Regions from separate parts of the Homo sapiens genome. Here regions 2, 3, 4, 5, 6 and 7 are each linked to region 1. The links are contacts of gene promoters, found by promoter capture Hi-C in blood cells and fetal thymus (Javierre and others, 2016). All regions are on one chromosome and are shown on one strand. The core of a region is centred on a gene start or on the middle of the fragment in contact, and the rest is flanking DNA. Distances in the headings are between cores, read along the strand shown.

The links. Contacts are between HindIII fragments. The CHiCAGO score rates a contact against its expected background, and 5 or more counts as called.
Region 2: a fragment that was not itself captured here is called in contact with the fragment with the promoter of IGSF6 in region 1 in 1 of 17 cell types (erythroblasts); the score reaches 6.0 in erythroblasts.
Region 3: a contact is called between a fragment that was not itself captured here and the fragment with the promoter of IGSF6 in region 1, in 1 of 17 cell types (neutrophils). The highest score is 6.8, in neutrophils.
Region 4: a fragment that was not itself captured here is called in contact with the fragment with the promoter of IGSF6 in region 1 in 1 of 17 cell types (neutrophils); the score reaches 8.8 in neutrophils.
Region 5: a fragment that was not itself captured here is called in contact with the fragment with the promoter of IGSF6 in region 1 in 1 of 17 cell types (total CD8 T cells); the score reaches 6.3 in total CD8 T cells.
Region 6: a contact is called between the fragment with the promoter of POLR3E here and the fragment with the promoter of IGSF6 in region 1, in 1 of 17 cell types (total CD8 T cells). The highest score is 5.2, in total CD8 T cells.
Region 7: a contact is called between the fragment with the promoter of EEF2K here and the fragment with the promoter of IGSF6 in region 1, in 6 of 17 cell types (total CD8 T cells, neutrophils, fetal thymus and 3 more). The highest score is 8.7, in total CD8 T cells.

Annotation. Positions count from the first base shown.
Region 1 is chr16:21,651,134-21,654,462 of GRCh38, reverse strand. IGSF6 (immunoglobulin superfamily member 6) reads left to right here and starts at 1,855. Exons shown (of 6, transcript NM_005849.4): 1 at 1,855-1,931. The coding sequence starts at 1,865. All of the region lies in intron 4 of METTL9 (methyltransferase 9, His-X-His N1(pi)-histidine), which reads right to left. The HindIII fragment of the contact is 3,735 bases long and covers 1-2,859 here.
Region 2 is chr16:22,641,284-22,644,612 of GRCh38, reverse strand. No RefSeq gene overlaps it. Among named protein-coding and RNA genes, the nearest start is that of LINC02890, 29 kb to the right of the region's middle. The HindIII fragment of the contact is 3,044 bases long and covers 215-3,258 here.
Region 3 is chr16:22,380,255-22,383,583 of GRCh38, reverse strand. No RefSeq gene overlaps it. Among named protein-coding and RNA genes, the nearest start is that of CDR2-DT, 7.0 kb to the right of the region's middle. The HindIII fragment of the contact is 2,875 bases long and covers 248-3,122 here.
Region 4 is chr16:22,363,898-22,367,226 of GRCh38, reverse strand. It overlaps CDR2 (cerebellar degeneration related protein 2), which reads left to right. Exons shown (of 5, transcript NM_001802.2): 2 at 2,213-2,325. Among named protein-coding and RNA genes, the nearest start is that of CDR2, 9.1 kb to the left of the region's middle. The HindIII fragment of the contact is 3,798 bases long and covers 1-3,329 here.
Region 5 is chr16:22,331,517-22,334,845 of GRCh38, reverse strand. POLR3E (RNA polymerase III subunit E) reads right to left here. Exons shown (of 21, transcript NM_018119.4): 20 at 2,661-2,786; 21 at 1-1,202. The coding sequence ends at 1,146. It overlaps LOC124903664 (a long non-coding RNA gene), which reads left to right. Exons shown (of 2, transcript XR_007065026.1): 2 at 1-936. Among named protein-coding and RNA genes, the nearest start is that of POLR3E, 36 kb to the right of the region's middle. The HindIII fragment of the contact is 7,227 bases long and covers 1-3,329 here.
Region 6 is chr16:22,295,695-22,299,023 of GRCh38, reverse strand. It overlaps POLR3E (RNA polymerase III subunit E), which reads right to left and starts at 1,615. Exons shown (of 21, transcript NM_018119.4): 1 at 1,487-1,615. It overlaps TRL-AAG2-4 (tRNA-Leu (anticodon AAG) 2-4), which reads right to left and starts at 1,884; the gene lies at 1,803-1,884. RefSeq lists silencers at 395-534, 1,545-1,994 and enhancers at 745-884, 1,327-1,871. The HindIII fragment of the contact is 19,375 bases long and covers 1-3,329 here.
Region 7 is chr16:22,204,685-22,208,013 of GRCh38, reverse strand. EEF2K (eukaryotic elongation factor 2 kinase) reads right to left here and starts at 1,736. Exons shown (of 18, transcript NM_013302.5): 1 at 1,335-1,736. RefSeq lists silencers at 1,236-1,505, 1,666-1,965. The HindIII fragment of the contact is 13,136 bases long and covers 1-3,329 here.

The DNA.
Region 1 (3,329 bases), core at 606-3,105:
GCACTGACTACAGACACACACACAGAGATGACAGTATATTTAACTTTGGGGGTACTTTTTAGGTGCTATGGTGATACAAAAACTACATACATCTGTTGAAGTGTTAAAACCAGATTGAGGCCGGGCGTGGTGGCACATGCCTGTAATCCCAGCACTTTGGGAGGCCGAGGTGGGCGGATCACGAGGTCAGGAGATCAAGACCATCCTGACTAACACAGTGAAACCCCGTCTCTACTAAAAAAAATACAAAAAAATTAGCTGGGCATGGCAACATGCACCTGTAGTCCCAGCTACTTGGGAGGCTGAGGCAGGAGAATGGTGTGAACCCGGGAGGCGGAGCTTGCAGCGAGCCAAGATCGTGCCACTGCACTCCAGCCTGGGCGACAGAGCGAGACTCTGTCTCAAAAAAAAAAAAAAAAAAAAAAACAAAACAGACTGAGAATAACTTTCTGTTAATGAGAAAATATATCATGAGCAGATGCCAAGGGCACAGACATCATATCATGGTGGGGAGATTTTTCATAATTTTCAGTGGTGCAGATGACGCTCTTCCCATGTCTGGGGAATTGCCTGCCCAGAGTCTGGGAGAGACACAAGGCCTGGGAGCCGCTTTCCTGGCCTGCCGTGCAGCTGAGGCACTGGCACGCAGCCTAAGCCAGGCACACTTGCCCATGCCCTGGAATGGAGAGCCAGTGACCCAGAGTAGTGGGGATGTGAGCTTCTCCTTCTCTGGGGGTGGAGCAATGGCAGTGAGACCAAGGGGCTGGGGCAGTGGTTGAGCGATGCTGACAACAGGGCTGATGGCACCTAGTGTTTGGCAGTGGCAGTAGCATCCTCTTCAGACCTGTTTATGGTGTGATTTGAGGCATTCTTCCTGGCTGTGGACCCCACACAAGATTCACTAGCCCTCCCAGTGACTCTAGGATCTACCTTCAAATGTTTGCATAAATTTCCTTTTAAGTCAGCCTGAGTCTGTTTCTGCTGCTTTACAAAGAAGACCCTTACTGAATCACCACTAAGTGCTGGGGGAGAGGACACAGAGGACAGAGGGCCCACATATTTGTTTCTCAACACATTAAAAGGGGGTCTTTGGGCCAGGCATGGTGGCTCACACCTGTAATCCTAACACTTTGGGAGGCCAAGGCAGGGGGATCGCTTGAGGGCAGGACTAGCCTAGACAACACAGAATCTACAAAAAAAAAAAAAAATTAGCCAGGGGTGGTGGTGCATGCCTGTAGTCCCAGCTACTCAGGAAGCTGAGGCTGCAATGACCTGCAATCTTGCCACTGCATTCCAGCCTGGGTGATAGAGACCCTGTCAAAAAAGGGGGGAAGGCAGGTGTCTTTGGATTCAAAACTGGAGTACAAAAAGTTAATAACAGACAATTTATTTATTCGCTGCATTAGAATGTGTTGTTTACTAACTTTTCTCATCTCTACACAAAGCCACTTCTCCTTCTGCTGTTCTTTGTTCCCAGCAGTTACTGGCCCAGAGTGGCACCCAGAGCAGGTACCCTAGACAGTGACTGAACTGTTCTGAAAAATCCAAGTACGAATTATTTGTCAAACAATACTCCTTCCTGGAAATATGTGCTAGGTGTAAATCAAAATCTCACCCAGAAACATCTAACACCTATGACAACTGTAAAATCCATGGAAAAAAAAAAGATATGCACATTTCTAAATGTGCTCCAGGCCAAAATCTCAATGTTAAATGGTGAAGCCATCCTTGCACAATTTCAAAAAGTTCCTGATTATGGTTCCTTCATAAGAGGTTCCTCTCTTCAGCTCTTCTTCCCTTCTGAAAAAAGAAAGCCAACTTTCCTTTCAAATACACACCCCAACCCGCCCCGGCATACACAGAAATGGGGACTGCGAGCAGAAGCAACATCGCTCGCCATCTGCAAACCAATCTCATTCTATTTTGTGTCGGTAAGGTTCTTTTTCTTCTCCTCCTTCATTTTATTTAAATCAACTGCTATTTTTCACCTAATGCATTTATATTTTAAGCTCCTTCAGATTAATTTTTAAATGTATAACATTATGAAAACTGCCTAAGAGGATAAGTTTCCTTTTTCCCCTGAGAAATAGACAATAAAAAAATAGCTGAGAAAAAGTTTCATATTAACCTTGAAAAGTCTCTTTGCTATTATGCTAATTGGAGACAATCTGACCAAAGGGTTGAAAATATTCTTAAAATCGTAGGTATAAGTTATCAATAATTTAATTATCATACAAACTTGATCTGCACATAGAAAGCAATAAATGATTATTTGCTGAATATTTTCAAAGAACAATTTCTATAAAAGTACTTTTCATTTAAGAAAAAAAAAACTGCCATGACTCCAATAGCCATCCCATAGTATATCTATTTTTAAAATTCTGTCTACTTCTGTTTTTTTATCTATGAAAGAGAAAGGATTTCCAATACATCTAGTAATCTCAGATTTGCCCACACAATTTGGATTATAGGGCAGGGAAGGGGGGAAAGTTCTTAATTTTTTCTCATCTGTGAAGAAATATATCAAAATGTTAATGGGAGTTATTTCAGGCAAAAGGACTATGGGTGACTTTTTGCTTCTACTTTTAATAACCTGTTTTTTGCTAATAAGTATATATTACTTTCATAGACTATTTTAATTAGCATTATTTTAAAGAAGAATTCCTGTCTTTTAGAGATATATTCTGAAAGATGCAGATAAAATGGCTGGGATTTGCTCTAAAATAATATGGGAGTGAGGGAGTAGGTGGGAGGAGAAAAGAAACAAGATTGGGTCGAAGCCATGTGATGGCAGGGGGTTGACTGTACTACTTCGCTACTTTGATATGTTAGAAATTTGAAATCTAATATAATAAAGCTTTGGGCTGGGCGTGGTGGTTCATGCCTGTAATCCCAGCACTTTGGGGGCCAAGGTGAGAGGATCACTTGAGCTCAGGAGTTCAAGACCAGCATGAACAACATAATGAGACCCCCATTTCTACACAAGAAAAAAAAATAGCTGGGCGTGATGGCACCTGCACTGCACCTGCAGTCCCACCCACCTGGGAGGCTGAGGCAGGAGGATCACTTGAGCCCAGGACTTTCAGGCTATAGGGAGCTGTGATTGTGCCACTGCACTCCAGCCTGGGCAACAGAGCAAGACATTTACTTACTTCTTACTTACTAGATAGAGAGACAGCTTTGTTTAAATGTCAAGAATTAGTTCTCTTCCTACTTTCAATATGGCTTTTTTGTTTGTTTGAGACGGAGTCTCGCTCTGTCACCCAGGCTGGAGTGCAGTGGCAAGATCTCGGCTCACTGCAAGCTCCGCCTCCCGGGTTCACGCCATT
Region 2 (3,329 bases), core at 487-2,986, 990 kb before region 1:
TTGAAAAGGAAAAAAAATCACTGATCAATATAGAAATGTTATTTGTAATGCATTTGATAACATGTATTTTACATTGTCTTCTGAATTTTGCCAAAAAAAAAAAAAATGAAGTAGCTTGACTCTACCTAGATTATAAGGTAGAATCAACAAGAATATCCAATGGACAGGTTGTGGAAAGTGAGAAAAATGGAAGATTTAACGACAACTCTAAGCTTTTTAGGTTGAACAATTGAAAGAACAAGAAGTCTCTATAAATATGAACCAGATCCCACATTTCTGACACAATTTAGGACAGTCAGGATATCCCAATTTATCACTTGCTGTTCAATAATAACGATGGTAATAACAATTACTATCTTTTTATTGAGCATTTACTATATGGCAAGGCATTTTATATGTATATTGCATTTAATCCTACACCCACTCCATGAGCTAGACAGATTTTTAGCCCTGTTTTTCCCCATGAGGACACTGAGGCTCAGAAAAGTTAAATAACTTGTCAAGTTCACTTACTAGTGGCAGGGCCCATAATGAAGCCCAGGACTCTATGGCTGCAAGGCCCATGACCATAATGGCATGGCATACTGTCTCTTCAATTCCATAATTTTCTAACTACTTATCATGAGTCGGGCATAGGCTGAGGCATTTTAAATATGCAATTTCATTTAATCTTTACAATAATCCTATGAAGCAGGTATTCTCATTCCCATTTTCAAATGGAAGCTAATTGAAATATCCAAGCCCTACTTCCCTTGTTCCAAAACCACGGTTCTCCAGGAAAATATGATAGAGCATGCTATGGGCTGAATGTTTGTGTCACCCCAAAATTCATACGTTGAAACCCTAATGCCCTATGTGATTGTATTTGGAGATGAGCTTCTGGGAGGTAATTAGGTCATGAGGGTGGAGCCCTCTTGATGGGATTAGTACCTATATATTTATTTATTTGTTTATTTATTTATTTATTTTGAGACAGAGTTTCACTCTTGCTGCTCAGGCTAGAGTGCAATGGCACGATCTCGGCTCACTGCAACCTCTGCCTCCCAGATTCAAGCGATTCTCCTGCCTCAGCCTCCTGAGTGGCTGGGATTACAGAAGTGTGCCACCACGCCTGGCTAATTTTGTATTTTTAGTAGAGATAGGGTTTCTCCATGTTGATCAGGCTGGTCTTGAACTCCCAACCTCAGGTGATCCACCCACCTCAGCCTCCGAAAGTTCTGGGATTACAGGCATGAGCCACCATGCCTGGCCAGCATTAGTACCTTTCTAAGATGAGATGGAGCACTCTTGAGTTCACTCTCCTTTCTCTCTCTTTCTCTCTCTCTCTCTCTCTCTCTCATCCCTCACTCCACCCCCATCTCTCTCTCTTTCTGTCATGTGAAGATACAGCAAGAAGGTGTCTGTGCAAACCAGGAAGAAAACTCTCTCCAAATCAAATCATCTAGAACCTTGATCTTGGACTTCCCAGACTCAGAACTGTAAGAAAGAAATTTCTGCTATTTAAGCCACACAATCTATGGTATTTGTGTTACAGCAACCTGAACTAAGATAGGGCGAGTAGTGTCCCACCCACCTGCCCTGATATTAGCTGGAGGGGAACAAGAAACTGAGTAAAGTGGGAGAGGGAGTACAAAAAGGCACAAGGCACAGTCTCTGCATTTAGGGGGCGTGACTCTCCTGGGGAAGATGATCAATTACCCACAGCCGGCCAAATGCCAATATGTCTCAAGTATGTGCCTTCCTTCAGTGGGTAGCCCACCCACACTGAAGGTTCGCCCCATGCCACAGACACTACTGTACATTGAGGATACAAAGATGGACCAGAGGAAGCTCCCACAAAATCTATGAGCAATGAAGAATTTTGGAGGCATATGCATTCTGTAAATGATTTGCAAGGCTTATTTAAATGCATCATAACTGCTACTGAGCCGAACGTCTATTCCCAGTTCTTTTCCTTAAATGTTAAAGACTAAAGACAGCACTTACCATCTGCTATAGCTTGAGATCTGCTCCTTCCCCCAAGGTCTCCCGACATGGCAGGCCCTGGCTGGCAGTCCCATATGACACAGCACACAACCCACCGGGAACATCTAACAGTCAGAACATCTGCTGGCCTTTTCTCTGCACTTTGCAGCTGTTTTAAACTTGTAACCGTTCCCTCTCTGAGGTCACTTCAGGCTTGTGGACAAACATGAAGTGTCTTAGGGTATTTATCTCAGTCTCCAACGAGTCTGGGTCCTTGGACTTCTGCTTATTTATTTAACAAATACTTGCTAAGCACCGGCTATGTGCCAAACATTGCTCTTGATGATACAATGGTGAACAAGAAAGATGCAGGTTCTGCCCTCATGAAACAAAGTCTACAAGGGAAAACAAACTTTGAGTAAGTTAACTGGCTATTGAGAAGATGTACAGAGTATGGCTATTGGGAAGATGTACAGAGTACACCAGAAACATATCATGGTAGATCTAAACCAGCATGGGGTCTCCTGGAGTAAGTGATATCTGAGCTAAGAAATGAAGCAGTTGTTAGCTGGATGGTAGGGGGGACAGACGAATCATTCCAGGCAGAAGGAATAATGTGAGAAAAGGCCCTGAGTCAGGATAGAGTATGTCAGCTTTGAATAAGAGAAAGAACTATAGAACAAGGAAGAGAGTGATGTAAGATAAAGCAAAGATACTGGATCATATTGGGCCTGACAGGTCATCTCAGGGAGTCCATATTTATCCTGAAGGCAGGGGAAAGCCATTAAATGATCTAAGCAAAGGAGTGACTGGATCTATTTGCATTCTTAAAGATAATTCTAATGGCTGTGTGGGAAGAAATAAGAGAACAAGGAGGAAGTAAATTGCAGTCCTTTGCAATTGTCCAGATGAAAGCTGGCCATTTCCAGTGGCTAAACCATTGGAAATGAAATGGATGGTATCTAGGCATGTTTTTGGTAAGTGCAACAAAACCTGGTGAGAGACTGCATGAGGCCAGAGACATACAGGCAGCCAACAAGCATATGAAGGTAGAGAAGTTAGCATGGAAGCTGATTTAACCTTTTAAGGACAATGGTGTCATTTTGAGATAGGGAAAACTGAAGGAGGGGTAGGTTTGATGAGTAAGGGTGATGAATTCATTTCTAGACATGCTGAATTTGAGATGACTGCAAGGCACTCAAGAGGATATGTCCAGAAAGAAAATTCAGCCAGCCTCCTATATTTGTTCTGACTCTCCTTATGTAAAGAAGAAACAGCCAGGAAAGAAAAGCTTCTATCTTGTGAGTCTTGTTTGATTCGTGCCCCTGCTGTTGCTGACAAAAACCATGCTGATACATTTCATA
Region 3 (3,329 bases), core at 436-2,935, 730 kb before region 1:
AAAAAAAAAAAATAGCCAGGTGTGGTGGCTCACACCTGTCATCCTACTCAGGAAGCTGAGCCAGGAGGATTGCTTGATCCTAGGGAGGTCAAGCCTGCAGTGAGCTATGATTGCACCACTGCATACCAGCCTGGGCAACAGAGCAGTCTCAGAAAAAAAAAAAAAAAAAAGAGAGGGACAGAGACTGGATATCTTAGTAATAATACTGATTTTTCCATATAAATTAATTTTCCAGACAACCTAAGCTTATTCTTTAAATTCTAATGCCTTTACATTTTAACTAGCAATCTTTTAAAAATCTCTCTTTCCGGCTGGGCGCGATGGCTCACACCTGTAATCCCAGCACTTTGGGAGGCCAAAGTGGGTAGATCACCTGAAGTCATGGGTTTGAGACCAGCCTGGCCAACATGGCAAAACCCTGTCTCTATTAAAAATACAACAATTCGCCGGGCGTAGTGGCATGGGCCTGTAATCGCAGCTATTGGGGAGGCCGAGGCAGGCGAATCACTTGAATTGGGGAGGTGGAGGTTGCAGTGAACCGAGATTGTGCACTGCACTCCAGCCTGGGTGACAGAGCAAAACTCTGTCTCAAAAAATAAAATAAAAGGCCAGGCGCGGTGGCTCACGCCTGTAATCCCAGCACTTTGGGAGGCCGAGGCGGGTGGATCACGAGGTCAGGAGATTGAGACTATCCTGGCTAACACAGTGAAACCCTGTCTGTACTAAAAAATACAAAAAATTAGCCGGGTGTGGTGGCGGGTGCCTGTAGTCCCAGCTACTCGAGAGGCTGAGGCAGAAGGATGGCGTGAACCCAGGAGGCGGAGCTTGCAGTGAGCCGAGATCGTGCCACTGCACTCCAGCCTGGGCAACAGAGTGAGACTCCGTCTCAAAAAAAATAAATAAAAGAAAATAAAGTAAAATAAAAAATAAAAATCTCTCTTTCCCTCAAAGGAAGGAGATCTGTCCTATGTGAAAGGACAGTAAAGATTCCATCTCACCTGGGCTTGATAAAAGGCCACTTCTGAAATCTTGTACAGATGTAGAAAAAGTTTCACATAGTAGAAACCAAAGACAGAATTCAGCATTTCAGTCCCTAATGTCATCATAGAGTATGCCCAAGCAATGGGTTTGATATTTAAAAGTGTCATTTTCCATGCAGAGGAACTCTTCTTCCCTTTGTTTAAAAAAAAAAAAAAAGGTTAAAATTCACTGCACACAGTAGTGGATGGGGGGGCAAAACATGGCTGGCCAGTACTTATTTTAGCCAAATAAGAGTTCAAACCTACGAGCTGTGAGTATGTCACCAGATTTAACACCTTACTTCCTTATCTATTCACTCAATATTTTTTGAGATGCTCGCCAGGAAACCTAGTTTGCATAGAGTATGACTCCACTTATATTTTTGTCTATCTCTTCGAACTTATAAAGTGGGATTTCAGCCTGGCCAACAGGGCAAAACCTCATCTCCACAAAAATACAAAAATTACCTGGGTGTGGTGGCATGCACCTGTAGTCCCAGCTACTTGGGAGGCTGAGGCAGGAGAATTGCTTGAACGCCAGAAGCAGAGGTTGCAGTGAACTGAGATGGCACTACTACAGTCCAGCCTGGGCGACAGAGCAAGACTCCACCTCAAAAAAATATATAAAATAAAGTGGGATTCATCCAAGAGCTTGGACATGATTAACTAGTGTCAAGGAGATATGTTTATGCCATTATTATCCTCCTTACTTGGTAGGGTACAACAGAAACAGAACAACAAGGTGACAGCCTTTTGCTCAAGTCAAAAAGAAAATAAGTCCCTCATCTTAGTTTAAAGTTGTTCATTCAGTAGTACAGACTTGCATTTGAAGACTTATTCTTGATCTTCTGTAGCTTTGACAGCAAGGACATCACTACAATGGGTACAGAAATAACACATTCTGATCCTTGCTGAGATCCTTGTATGGGCCTATCTTAAATCTAGCCTATTGTCTGTCTTACCCTTTGATTTTTATAAGTAGAAAACAGGAAAAGGCTAACCAAGCAAGAGGAAGGCATAGATTCATCTTCCTTTCAATCTTGACTATAGTTTAAAGAGAATACCATGATCTTTCTGTTCTATTCTTGGCTTACTTGAATATTTAGCCAGGTCTCTGCATCTTATTCAGTCAGAAAACAGACACAGATTCAGATAACTCAAAGGATGTTACTTGCTTGAGTAATCCTTGGGCCTCGCTTTAACTTTGTAGATCCAGGAACAGAATTAAGCAGACAGTTCGGTCTACACTGCCAAATTTCTTAGGGAAAAAGAGGGCAAGTCAGAAGGAGGAAGTTGGCATTTGGCTCAAATGACCAAATTATTTAAGGTCTCTACACTTCACTTTGCACCAAGTAGACCCAAGAATGATTATAATTCAGCTACGTGTGGTGGTGCAGATCAGTAGTCCTAGCTATTCAGGAGGCTGAGGCGGGTGGATTGGTTGAGCCCAGGAGTTTGAGGCTGCAATGAGCTATGATCTCGCCACTGCGCTTTAGCCTGGGCAACAGAACAAGACCCTGTCTCAAATTAAAAAAAAAAAAAAAAGAAGACTCTAATTCTATGAGTGGCAGGGTCCTAGAATTATCAAAAATGGGTTATCAAACCCATATGCATACCAAGCATTGTCTATAGAATAAAGAATGTTTTGTCCACATGTGTACTTGTATTCTTAAAATGTTTGTAGCTTCTGCTATAATGATTAAAAATACAAATCTGATTGTTTTCATCATGATGCAGTTCCCAAACACTTCAAAACTACTATTGTGTGGAGGCCAGCCAACATTTTTTACTTTAAAAGCAATTCTCAGATTTCAAAATGCTGGGAACTACCAGTGAAGACTTCACTCTAAGGAGTTCATCCCTGAGAATGAAGACTGAGGCTAGAGGTTGCTTGGTTACTAAAAGAGTCAAAAACAAGGGAGACAGTAGAATCAAAAGCCAAGACACAAATTTAGCCTACCAAAACCTAGGGACTCTTGTTTCTTTTAGTTTTATTTCAGGCGTGCTAAAACAAGAAGCATGCTGCACCTTTCTAATCTGATCTATCACTAAGTTGCATGGCAGGTATTTGTAAACTTATAATTCTGCAAAAGGCCATAAGCTTTCTGAGAGTTGAATTCAATTTTTTTTTCAAAGATTTAAGTTAAGTACCCAGCCTGTCCGAAACATAAGAATATAAGGTTTCAATTGCATTATGAAAAACTCTACGGTCTGAACTTCGTGGCCAGGCACAGTGGCTCACGCCTGTAATCCCAGCACTTTGGGAGGCCGAGGTGGGCAGATCACTTGAGGTCAAGAGTTTGAGACCAG
Region 4 (3,329 bases), core at 491-2,990, 710 kb before region 1:
GTAAGACCCTGTCTCTACAATAAATCAGTAAGTAAGTAAGCTGGGTTTGGTAGTGCATGCCTGTAGTCCCAGCTGTTTGGCAGGCTGAGGCAGGAAGATCACTTGAGCCCAGGAATCCAAGGCTACAGTCAGCCATGAGTGCACCACTGCACTCCAGCATGGCAACAGAGCGAGACCGTGCCTAATAAAGAGACAGAAAAAGAAAGCCCTTTGTTCATTATCACCAAATCCAGGTTTTTCTCCCCCGCTTTATCTTTTAGACTTTATATTGAATTGGTCAACAAATCCTTTAGCTTTACTTTCAAAACATGTCAGAATTCTGCCCCTCCTCTCCCATCTTCATCTCTGCCACCCTGGTCCAAGCCACCATCATCTCTCACCCAGACGATTGCAGTATCTTTCTGTCACTCTGCTCCCACCTTTGTCCCATTCACCCTGTATAACAGCAGCCGGAGTGATCCTGTTAAACCTCCATTGGATTCCTTCATTTGGAGTAAAGGCCAAACTCTTGACCTCTTTAGTTAGGCCCTCCGCAAACTGGCCATCTTGGAGCCCCTCTGATTTGAGTCTTCCCCCTCCCCTCCCTGCCCAATACATTCTGCTCCACCCTCCTCAGCCTCCTTAATGACTCAGTCATGCTTCCTCCCAGGTGCTTTGCACTTGCCTTGCCTCTGCCTGGAGTGCTGTTTCCCTGATGGATACACATGGGTCACTTATTCTGTTCCTTCACACATTGATTCTAATGTGGCCCTGGTCACATGTTCTTAAATTTCAGCCTCCCACATCCACACTCCTCCTGTACTTCTTCCTTGCTTTATTTTTTTCTCTTTAGCATTTATCGCTATCAAGTTTTATTGTGCTGTTTCTCCCAGTAGAATATAAGCTCCATGAGGGCAGGGATATTTTTTTAATGTGAGTTCCTTATGGCTCCTGGGCACCATCCCAGTGCCTAGAATAGTGTCTGATATTATTGAGTATATGCATGCATGCATGAATACTGTTTATCACAGTATGTGAGTTTAGTTACTCATTTGTCTGGCTTCCTCCACTAATCTGGGAATGTCAGCAAAGCAGGACTTCATTTTATTCACTGTTCTATAGCTAATGCTTAGCATAGTGCCTGGCAACAAAAACATTCATTTGTGAATCAATGACTATTAATAGTACTTTGCGTGCGTATTGCAACTTAGTTTGTAAAGTACTCCTTTATGTATTATTTCATTTGATTTTCACAATCTTATATTGATAAGACAGTCATCTCTCTAAACAAGAATACTAACTATAGGGGCCTTAAAGTCACCATATTGAAAGTGTTCTGGTAAATGATAGAACTGGGCCTGAGACTTACCTGCCCAGAGTGCAGTGCATTTCCCACTGTATCAAAGGACTGCTCCATAAGATTTACTATGCAAAGAAGTATTTCAATGACGTATGTTACAACTAGTGTCCTTTCTTATATTGTTAACTAAATTTTCATTTCTGGGAGTTGAGTATAATATAAACAAATCCTGTTTTATGGGCATTATACCTAAGAATAGAGAGAGTTGAAAAATGAGGTTTAAAATAAAATATGGTTCTGTGCTAAATGGAAGTATGAGCTACTGACATGTAATTACCTCAAAAACCACATTTCTGTTTTGCTTTTCTAGTTGCTCATCTTACAGAAGGACACGAAGAGAAGTAGAGTGACCTGGGGCAGTGTTCTTAATGCTGATGTATTTTTCCTTTTCTTGACTTAATAAATTTTAGTCCCCTTAGGAGTCCAGGATATATGACAATAAACTTTAACAGTTGTATTCACAGCAGGCAAATTCATGGGAACTTTAAAGATTTTTGAAAGCTCCACCTATACCTTGGCTCAAGGGTCCATTCAAAAAAGTAGACTGTCAGGATATGAATACATTCATTGTACTAGCAAATAGGATTTTAGAAGTAACACTGCGGAATGATCATTCCTGAACAAATAACTGCATCTCCATAAAGTAGATGACCATTTTTCACTTCTTACAAGTATGGGTACATAAGAGAATACATTACCTGCTGGAGGCGTCAGTTTAACTGAATTTTAAGTAGAACTCGGGTTTCCTTCTGTGCCACTCCACCTTCCATTGGGATGTGACTTAAACTACATGTTCTTTTTTGAAGGACTGGGTTATATAAATTGTTGATGTGAGATCATTTGTATTATTCTAAGATTCATTTGTTGTGCTAGATCTTCAACTTGCTGCTGAGCTTGGGAAGACATTACTGGATCGGAACACAGAGTTGGAGGACTCTGTTCAGCAGATGTATACAACCAATCAGGAGCAGTTACAGGAAATTGAGGTAATTCACTTGGCAGGAGAGTTACACTTTTGACACTTCGATGTGTTGCTGTTATGCCAATCACATACTGGTAAAAAAGCACTTGCAATTAGATGCAGCATTTTATTTTTTAACACAAACTTTTTTGAGAATGAGAACCGCCTCCCGAGTAGCTGGGATTACAGGCGCCTGCCACCACGCCTGGCTAATTTTTGTATTTTTGGTAGAGATGGGGTTTCACTGTGTTAGCCAGGCTGGTCTCGAACTCCTGTCCTCAGATGATCCACCTGCCTTGGCCTCCCAAAGTGCTGGGATTACAGGCATGGGCCACCACACCCGGCCTAAAACATGCAATATTTAAGATATACAGAATGGGGTAAGAGAACAATACAGTGAATACCCATATATCCACCACCTAGCTTAAAAAAGAAGACTGCCCACACTCTTGAACTTCCCACCGGAGAGGGAACTTATACCTCCTCCTTGGTGACATATCCCTCCCACCTACTACCAAACCATATCCTAAATTTGAAAAAAAAAAATCATAGTTCCTGATTTCACAGTGTGTTCAGATGTTTTGCTCCATTCAAATAATCATAAAATACATGTTGCTTTCTCTCTGCTGTGATCTTGATTTGTTTACATTTTTGCTGGATATTTTATTAAAATGCTACATTTTTGGCTGAGTGTGGTGGCTTATGCCTATAATCTCAGCACTTTAGGATGCCGAGGGAGACAGATTGCCCAAGCTCAGGAATTCGAGACCAGCCTGGGCAACGTGGTAAAACCCCATCTCTACAAAAAAAAATACAAAAATTAGGCTGGTGTGGTGGCGTGTGCCTGTAGTCCCAGCTTACTTGGGAGACAGAGGTGGAAGAATCACCTGAACCTGGGAAGTCAAGGCTACAGTGAGCCAAGACCGTGCCACTGTACTCCAGGTTAGGTGATGGGAGCGAGACCTTGTCTCAATAAAAAAATAATAATAATATAATACCTTTTGCCCAGCTTAACAAACTAAAATGAAA
Region 5 (3,329 bases), core at 364-2,863, 680 kb before region 1:
TACCAAAATTCACATGTCATCCAACCTAGCTTACTCTTATTTTTTCCATCAGTTTCTAGGGCTGTGCTATCCAATACTGTCGCAAATAGCCCCATGTGGCATCGGAGCACTTATGATGTGGCTAGTCCAAACTGAGTGTTGAGGAAAGTGTAAAATGCCAGATTTTGAAGACTTTTACCTTATGTTGATGTTTTAGATATTTTGAGCTAAATAATATGCTAACATGACCTTTTTAAACTAATGTGGTTGCTAGAAACTTTCAAAATTATGTACGTGACTCGCCTCTTTCTAGTGGACAGTGCTGCTCTGTCTTCCTCCATTAGCTCCGTTCCCTCTAGATACACGTAACGCTGAGCCCAACAAGATCGCCTTCCTGTAACCATTTGAAGATAGCACCATGATGCTAGTTTAGTGTTTGCATTTATTTTAAAAATACACAAAATAGAAATTTTTACATCAAAGTGTGATAACCTCACTTACACATTGTTCCATACTTACCTGGTTTTGTTTGCATCTTTCTGCAAACATTAAAAGGAGATGGATTTGATTCTGATTTTTTTGCTATGGTTCATGTAAACAGTTGAGACTGCTACATAAAGTAGGTTGTTGTCAAAGGTGAAGTGGCCACAGAATCCCAAGAATAGAATAATTCAATTTGGTTTAATGAAATTGGTGGAGGTCTTAGCAGATAGATAATCCAAGACTAAATATTGTCTTCTAGGCATTTTAAAAATTAAGAACTTTGAGGTTTTCTTCATGTTGTAAACATAACTTAGACCTTGTTGGCATTAAGTTTACAAAAGAAAATATTAAACCATGATTTTTATCATCCTGCCCATGTCAGTATACACTCTCTTTATTATGAGAATGAAACCAAATAATAAGCAAAATACATCAGGAATTTCAAATTGTACTGCAAAGAAGGTCCCAGCTGGTCTCTTCTGGGAGTGATCTAACTAACTTAAGCTGACCCTGCGACTGGCTGAGGATAATCCCTTCTGTCCACTGCACCGTGCAATGCCACAGGTCATGAGATGGTCAGTTCCTCTTGCTCTGTGTCGTCTGAAGCAAGTCGAGGCCCTACTTCTGGTTCCGCCCTTCTTCCTTGGGCTTAGATTTGCTGGGTTAGTAGTTTGCTACTATTGTCAAGACTGTACTGTCCCTTTAAGGTACCACATGCCACCATAGCTTACACAGCAGTCCTATGAGAGAGAAACAGGGTAAGCACAGATTTTTGCAGGAAAAGGAGCTAATTACATTCTGTCCACAATGTCAACACTCGATTTATGATTAGTGAATAGAATACAAATGGGAAATCAAAAACTGCCTAACCATACCACCATGGCTACTACCAGCCACCCTTTCCTCAGGGGTAGTGTTTTTTTTTTTTTTTGAAACAGAGTTTTGCTCTTGTTACCCAGGCTGGAGTGCAACGGCATGATCTTGGCTCACTGCAGCCTCTGCCTCCCAGGTTCAAGCGATTCTCCTGCCTCAGCCTCCCAAGTAGCTGGGATTACAGGCATGTACCACTACGCCTGGCTAATTTTGTATTTTTAGTAGAGATGGGGTTTCTCCATGTTGGTCAGGCTGGTCTCAAACTCCTGACCTCAAGTGACCCACCCACCTCAGCCTCCCAAAGCGCTGGGATTACAGGTGTGAGCCACCGCGCCTGGCCATTCCTCAGGGGCATTTTAAAAGTGAGGGTGGGCCAGGCATGGTGGCTCACACCTGTAATCCCAGCTACTTAGGAGGCTGAGGCAGGAGAATTGCTTGAAACTGGGAGGTAGAGGTTGCGGTGAGCCGAGATTGTGCTACTGCACTCTAGCCTGGGCAACAAGAGCAAAACTCCATCTCAAAAAAAAAAAAAAAAAAAAAAAAGGGGGTCTACGAAATACAGATACTGACATGCCCAGAACAAGGGTGCTTAAAAAACAGTATTACTTATATGGCTCTGGATGTTTAATCAAAACAAGACATTGTCATCAGTTTTCTGTCTCTCAGTGTTGCTGCAAATATGGTTGGTATTTGTACTACAGTCACTTCAGAAAAGCATTATAGGTTGTACATTAGGTGCTTTCATATAGTAAACAGATCATATTCCTTTTTAAACTAAATTTAAGAATGGATTCTACTGAAAGTCATGTGTGTGGCTATGGCAACAATCAGAAGATAGTTCAAAATTCAAGGGAGAGTAGAGTGAGGATTCTCAACTAGGCCCTATCATTTTAGAAGACGCCTACCCACTGCCAAGCTCATCCAACCTACCATATTTTTTTGTTGTTCTATTGTTTTAGGCTCTTAGCAGCCTGAAGCCATGGTTTTTAGTTTCTGTCTCTAGTGACAAGCAGAGAAGAGGGATGAAAGGGGCATTACTGGCCTGGCCCAACCAGAAAGAGAAACAAAGCATCCATGGCTGTATTCTTTCCCTTGGACACCACTGTGACTATATTGTTTGAAGGGGTCAGTCCTCTGGCACATACCCCCTTCCCCAACCAATGCCAATCAATCAATCATTAACAGTTGCTCAAGACAAGACTGACTGGGGAGTGGTCCCAAGGAAGCCTGATTTCATATACACAAAGACACTAGAGTCCCTTCTACACACTGTCAGCCCCTTCCAGAGCCTTTGATATTGTTTGTTATGCACAAAATGGATGTACCTTTAGTACTTTATCCACCTCCTGTTTACTGAGATCTTCTCCACACTCTTGAGTCAACCGAGACTGGATCATGTTTCGGCGTACCCGGTAATTTTTGGAAAAAATTTCAAGCAAAACCTGTCGATGCTTTAGTAGCAAAAACACGTTATGATGGGAAACAGTGATCTAAAAAGAGAAACATCCCCAAACAAGACACCCAAGCCATGCACCTGACTTTGTGTTGCAGTCTCTGATAAAAACCCTCACGCAGCACCTCTGGTTAAAGATGAGCCAAGTCATCTCTAGAGACCCAGCAAGACAGTGTACAGAAATAAAAACACAAAAGTAAAGGCATTAATGCTATGTCTGGAAACTTGAATATAAATAAAAACAAAGGTATATGCCAGCATAACAAAAGAACTGGTGAAGAGACATGAGAGGATGAGTGGCTTGAACATATTTCTGCATGGTAAAATGCAGGCGTGCATCGGACTTAGCAAGCAGGTGAAGCGACAATCTAAGCTGCACGGAGATGAGAAGAGGGTGTCAAAATTGGTGTGAAGTCTTAATGCACAAACATGCCACTGCATCCATGAAACAGGATGCCGTAAAATACGTTACACCCCAAAATAAAAATGGAAAAGATTGGATTCAGTATGTCTAATATCTGTCATAAGAATTCTGAAAAAA
Region 6 (3,329 bases), core at 366-2,865, 640 kb before region 1:
TCAGGTGTTGTTTGTCTTCTGCAATAGAACGTAAGCTCCATGAAGGCTTCTCAGTGCTTCAGTTTCCTCAACTATGAAATGCAGACAATCATACTTTACTTCATCAAAGCTGTTATGGGGAGCATTACTTTAAAAAAAAAATCCAGTGCTGGTTCTCTCAATACCTAGAACAGTGCCTGGCACGAAGTTGACACTCAATATAGTACAAAGAATACTTTATATTTAATCTTCTCATTAGCCCTATCAATAGAGATTTATCATCTTCAATTTGGAAATGACGAGACTGAGGTTCAGATATAAGCAACTCATCCAAGGTGGAATGAGGACAGAAACTTGGGTCTCGCTATGTCAAAGATCCTTATTCTTATTCTTAACCACTATACTGCACGGTTTTCTGATAAACGGCAGTATGGTTAAGTGGGTAAGAGCTTGGACCCGAGAACAAAACTGTGCAGGTTCAAATCCCACCACAGCTGCTTGGCATCTGTGACCCACCTGAGTTGTCTGGGTTTGGTATTCCTCCCTATTTTCATCCCTAAAGTAGGGAAACTAAGTACCGACCTCCAGACCCCTGCGGGGAAGGAGTAAGGACAGGACGCTAATAAACGTAACCTCTGGGAAGGTTTGTTATTACTTGACAACATGTTTTCTGCCAACGTAAGCGGGTAATGACGCTAAGCCACAAGTCAAACGCTGCAAGCAGGAGCGTCACCCGGTTTCTACTGAGCCGTCACCACAACCCTATGAGGTAGGAATTTCTATTATCTCTATTTCACAGATGAGGAAACTGTGGAGATCGCTAAGATCTCTTCTTTCCGCCTCCAAGCCCAAGGAATTCTAAAGCTAACCCAAAGGAACGACCTTGTTTGTTTACTGACACCTCCTCGGACCGAATGGTCAGGGCTGTATCCGGAACACAGAGTTGGCTCGGTAAACACTGAATGGTTGCCTGAATAAATGAATGAGGAATCCCTGGCCTCGCCGGGCAGAGGCTAATCCGGTTCAGCTGCGAAGTGGGGGCTCCGGCAGGCGCAGGTGCCCTCCCTGCCCATCGGGGCGGGCCGCCGATCCCGAGCCTCGCTGTCCAATGGGTTTCTGCTCCCTCGCGGGTGGTCAGGCCCCCCTTCTCACGCCCACCACGCAGTCCCTGCCGCGAGCCGCCACTACACCCGACGCGCGGACAGGTGTTTCTTCCGTAGGAGGCCTCCCAGGCCCGGATAGGGCAGGTCGGCTGGACCCTGAGTCACCGCCGCCAGCGTCGGCCGCGGCCTCCCCAACTCCCAGGTGTCAGGTCAAGGAAGTCAGAGTCCGGGGTCGGCCTGGAGCCGGCTGCCCCTCCTCCCCGCCCGAGTCCCGAGAGGCCTCCAGCTGCTAGGCACAGCGCGGCGCGGGCCTCCTTGGCCTACTCGGGAATCTAGCCCAGGCCCACGTCGTGAGTGCGGTCCGGCTCAAGCCCCAGCTCGGGCACTGCCAAGACGGGACTCACCTCTCCGCGGGGGCCGAGCGCGGACGGCGGCAACGGCCCAGTTACCCGCGGGCTGCAGAGACGGCGGCGGCCCGGCTCTCCTCTCAGGCGGCGGCCATGTTGCTGGTGGAGAAACTCCGGCGGACACGTGGGGGGGAGCGGGCCGGCCCCAGCGTTTCCTCTTACCCACAATGCCCCGCCCCGGTGCACGCGGCTCCGCCCCCTCCGCCGCGCCATTCATGCAGGCCGTGAGCCCCGCCCTGCAGCAGGGGGCGCTGATGGCACGCGCAAAACTGAGCCAGGAGTGTATGCAGCGGGGACAAAAAGACAGCAACCCTGGCAGCGGTGGGATTCGAACCCACGCCCCCGAAGAGACTGGAGCCTTAATCCAGCGCCTTAGACCGCTCGGCCACGCTACCCAGCTGCAATATGTTTATGCCAGAAAGCTACTTAATGCTTTTGCTTTTGCATTTAATCTGGACATTGCGAGGCGTTTTCGCTGAGGTTTTTTTTTTGCTTAACGTGTGTTCAAGGTGATCCCTATAGAATTATTTTAAAAAGCCGTGTTTTGGAAAATAAACACTTGCTCCAGTCTTTAGACCCAGGTTGGTTCCGAATAGGTATTAGAGCAAAACGCATTTTTAGAAACTTTACTCTGAGTTGGATGGTTAACCCGGAGACCCCTGGTTAACCCACAGGTAATCCATACGACCCGGATTGGGTGTCTCCGGGAGAAGAAATTGATCTGATCAGAAACATGCACCAGGGGATCTGACGGCCAAACCCTGGAGCTGGTCTGGGCAGTTGTCTCTGAAAAATTATGTTTAAATTTTTACTTACACAAATAACACGCGAATTATTGCAAAATATTTAAACTTTGCAGATAAGGTACAAATGCTCTTTGACCTTGACTCGCATCCTAGGCCCCTCCGCCGAGGTAACTAACCATTATTATCTGTTTAATATGAACTATGGTTTGAATGTGTCCCCCAAATTTCATGTGTTGGAAATTTAATCCCCAATGTGGCAGTATTGTGTGGTGGGCCCTTTAAGAGGTGATTAGATCATGAGGGTGGAGCCCTTATGAATGGATTAATCTCTTCATGGATTCATGGATTAATGGGTTAATGGATTAATGGGTTATCTTGGGAGGGGGACTGATGGCTTTATAAGAAGAGGGAGAGAGACCTTAGCTAGCAAGGGAGCAGCTCAGCACCCCCTCCATATGATGGCTTGTACTGCCTGGGAACTCTGCAGGTGTCCCCCACCAGCAAGAAGGCCCTCACCAGATGCACACTCTTGACCTTGGACTTCTCAGACTCCATAACTGTAAGAAATAACTTCCTTTTCTTTACAAATTACCCAGTTTCAGGTATTCTGTTATAAGCAACAGAAAATGGACTAAAACACTATATATCTTTCTAGATCTTTTGCTGTGAATTTATATGTTTATATCTATATGGATATATATAGATATAGCCATAGAAGATAGCTTTGTTTTTATTGTGTATGGATTTGAACACAAATATTGTCACATTATTCATATAGATCTGCAATTGGCTGTTATTTTTCACCAGACTGTATTTTAAAATACCTATCCGTGTGGATATGCAAAGATATTAAAAACAAAAATGCACAAAAATTACAAAGAAAAAAATTATCATCCATAGTGCCACCACCTGGCATTAAATTAATGACTTAGTATTGTGGCATTTTTTTCCTTTTCTTTTTTCTTTTCTTTTTTTTTTTTTTTTTTTTTTTTTTTTTTGATGTGGAGTCTCGCTCTTGCTGTCTAGGCTGGAGTGCAGTGGTGCGATCTCCGCTCACTGCAATCTCTGCCTCCTGGGTTCAAGCGTCTCTACTA
Region 7 (3,329 bases), core at 487-2,986, 550 kb before region 1:
TGAACAAAGGAATGAACATCGGGTGCTGTGGAGGCCACACAGAAGGAAGACACCTGCATACGCCATCTCTGAACTCTACCTCCTTCCACCTGCCTCTTCCCCAGCTCAGCTTAAACAGCACTTGCTACAGGAAGCCTTCCCCCATAACCCTCTCCCCTTTACACACACAGTGGGCATTCTCAGCTCCCACCTGCTTGCTCTGTATTCCCATTTACTCCATCTCGCTTTTTAGAATCTGTTTATGTGACTGGCTTCCTCTTAGGGAGCTTCTGTGGGCCTGGGGATCACTCTGACCCTCGGTTTCCTCCTCGCTAAAAACATTAGGATAGACTACGTGACTCAATTCGCTGTGACTTCACAGCCTGTCCAGGGCCCTCAACCACAGGGCTCTTGGCCATCAGATGTCTCCCGGGGCCATAGACTATGACACTGTGTGCCAGGCACTGTTCCAAGCACCTGACATATACATACTCATCTACTCTTTCCAAGGATACTAAGTGGTAGATACTAATACTGTACCCATTTTACCGATGAGAAAACCGAGGGCCAGAGAGCATAAATGAGCTAGAATTCCAACCCAGGACTCCAGCCCTAGTGTTTCCTGCTTTCCTGGCTGAAGAAGCACCCACCACCGAGGTCCCAGAGGTCGGGCTCCCTGGGACCGTCCCCCTGGGCAGATCTCACTTCCCCATGCGGCCCATCTGTCACACTCAGGGCGCAGCTGGGCTGGTTCCCCGAAATCCCCCAGGCGCGCGCAAAAGGATCTAGGCCGGGGCTTACCCGGGAGGCCCCCACCCCCGCGCGGCCACCGGCTTATTAATGCCCAGCCCCTTGGCACACATGTCAGCAGCGCCTGCCAACAAACTCCCGCAGCCAACAATGCAGCAAGGGCGCGTCTATACAGTCCTGGAGGTTCCGGGAATTCGGGCTGACGCAGGCCTCTAGTTCAGGGGAAAGGTGGGGGATGCGGCTCTGAGCCCTGCAGGGGACAGGAAGGCAGCGATGCGCCCACACTCTAGGGGCCCCGAGGGGGGAGGCCCCCAAACTCTCTGTCACTTGCAGCCAGATCACCGCCCATTGCTTGCCAATTGCTTTCCATATCCACATCGCCTTTAATCCGCACAACTTCCCCATTTCTCCAAAGCAAGCACTTAGCCCCAGAGAGTTTAACAACCAGAGGAGAAGCGCCCCCACACTCTCCTTCCATGCCTTCTCCGGCCCCATTCCCAAGCCCAGACCCAGCACGCTCCAGACGCCAGCTGCACCCGGGCGCACAGGCCTGCAGCGCGGGCTCCCAGCCCCCCACAGCCTTGCCGGCCGCGGTCCACACCTACCTCCCTCGGGCAGACAGGCGCGGCAGCCGCTGCCCACGGCCGCGAGGGTCCAGAGGAGTTGGCAGAGGCTCGCGGCCCGGAGCTCCAGGGTGCAGGGCGGGCGGGCCCCCCGAGAGTGCCGGGGAGCGGAGAGCGGGGAGCGCTAGCTGGCGCTCCGGGCAAGCAGCTGGGGCCACGCGGGGTAGATGGACCGATCCCAGGGCGCGCGGGGCAGTCGGAGTGATCCCAGGAAGGGCGCAGGGGCCGTTGGGACGATCCCGGGATGTGGGAGCGCGTGCCAGGGGGGACTCGCGTGCAGGCGACAGCGAGCGGGACTCGGGTGGCTGCAGGGCCGGGAGTGCGGGCGCTCGATCCAGGAAGGAGGGGAGCTGAGGCTGAAGCTGGGGCTGGTCTAGGTTGAGCAGAAGCGGGCGGGCAGGGGCGGGGCTGGCCTGGCGGGCGCACGGCGTGGCGCTCACGTGGCCGCCCCCAGGTGGCCATCACAGCGCCTGCAGCCGCCTAGCGGGCCTCCTGGCTCCGGCGCTGGCTCCCAGCCCCAGGTGCAATGGTTAGCGCTAAGTCTTGGCTCCCCCTGCTGAGTACACAGTGTCCGGTTCTCCTGCTCAAGGCTGGCCTAGCATCCGGCAGCGAGGGGGCAATTCGAGGGAGTGACCAACTTCCGTCCTCTCCCGCCGCGCCTCGCCATTCTCGCCTGCTTCTCGCTTAGTTCCTGTATTCCTGTCCTTTCCAAAATCATTAGTGATCCAAGCCCATCGCTTGTTTGTATGTATCTCTATCCATAACCTTAAAATATTTTTTATCGGAAATACTTTGTTTTTCCTGATTTCTGCTTTGTAAAAACAGGCACGTATGACGATTGCAATTATTTGTGTAGTTTTAAAATTAGTATCTCCTTTAGTTATTCCTAACTCTTGACACAGGGCCTGGGTGGCACACAGTAGATGCTTAATAAATACCTGTGGCATGAGTGGTAGAGTGGCTAAGGTATAAAAAAGAAAACGAATTAAAACTAATAGCTACTGTGAACACTTTAATATTAGGTCCTTCCAGATACTTTGTTAGTGAAATTTTAGAAATTTCACACATTCTAGATAGAAAAGTAGTAACAATGACATGTTTTGAGGGATTTCTCTCATTCCATCTTCCCAGCACTTTGGGAGGCCGAGGCCGGCAGATCACCTGAGGTCAGGAGTTCGAGACCAGCCTGGCCAAAACGGTAAAACCCTGTCTTTAGTAAAAATACAAAAAAGCAGCCGGGCGCGCCTGTAGTCCCAGCTACTCTGGAGGCTGAGGCACGAGAATCGCTTGAACCCTGGAGGCAGAGGTTGCAGTGAGCCGAGATCGCGCCACTACACTCCAGCCTGGGTGAAGGAATGAGACTCCGTCGCAAAAAAACAAAAACAAAAAAATAAAAAAGAAAAAAGAACAAAACTGAGGCTTATAGAGATAATGACATGCCCCAGGTGAGGCAGCTAGAAAAGGCAGAGCCAGCAGTAAATCCAGACTTCTCTGATTTCAAAGTTCAGGCTCTCCAAAGAACTTTTTTCCTTATTTATAAACCCCAAAGAGAGTAAACTCCAGCTTTTGGCAAGACAAAATTGCACCTGGAATTCTGACCCTGGGGCCGTCAGGCAGGAAGGGAAGATCAAAGATGCTGAACTAGTCTGTCCAAGCCCAAAGCAAGATTGGAAAAAAAAAAAAGACGCTACTGCTTAAAGCTCTATGGCCCTTGGGCAAGTTATTTTACTTCTCTGAGCCTCTGTCATTTTTGTCTGCCCAGCAGGAGTGTCCTTCTTTGCATTAGCGTCTTGGTTAGTCTTCAGGGAACCAGTTCACCCTATTTCAGTTCAGGAAAATAGCCCTCCCCACTCCCCTGGCTCCAAAAATGGACACATGACCAGACCTGGCCAATTAGCATATTTCATCCCTTCAGCCTCATTGATTGGTTCAGGGATGAGCATGTGATCCAAGTTAGGCCAGTGAAATACTAATCTG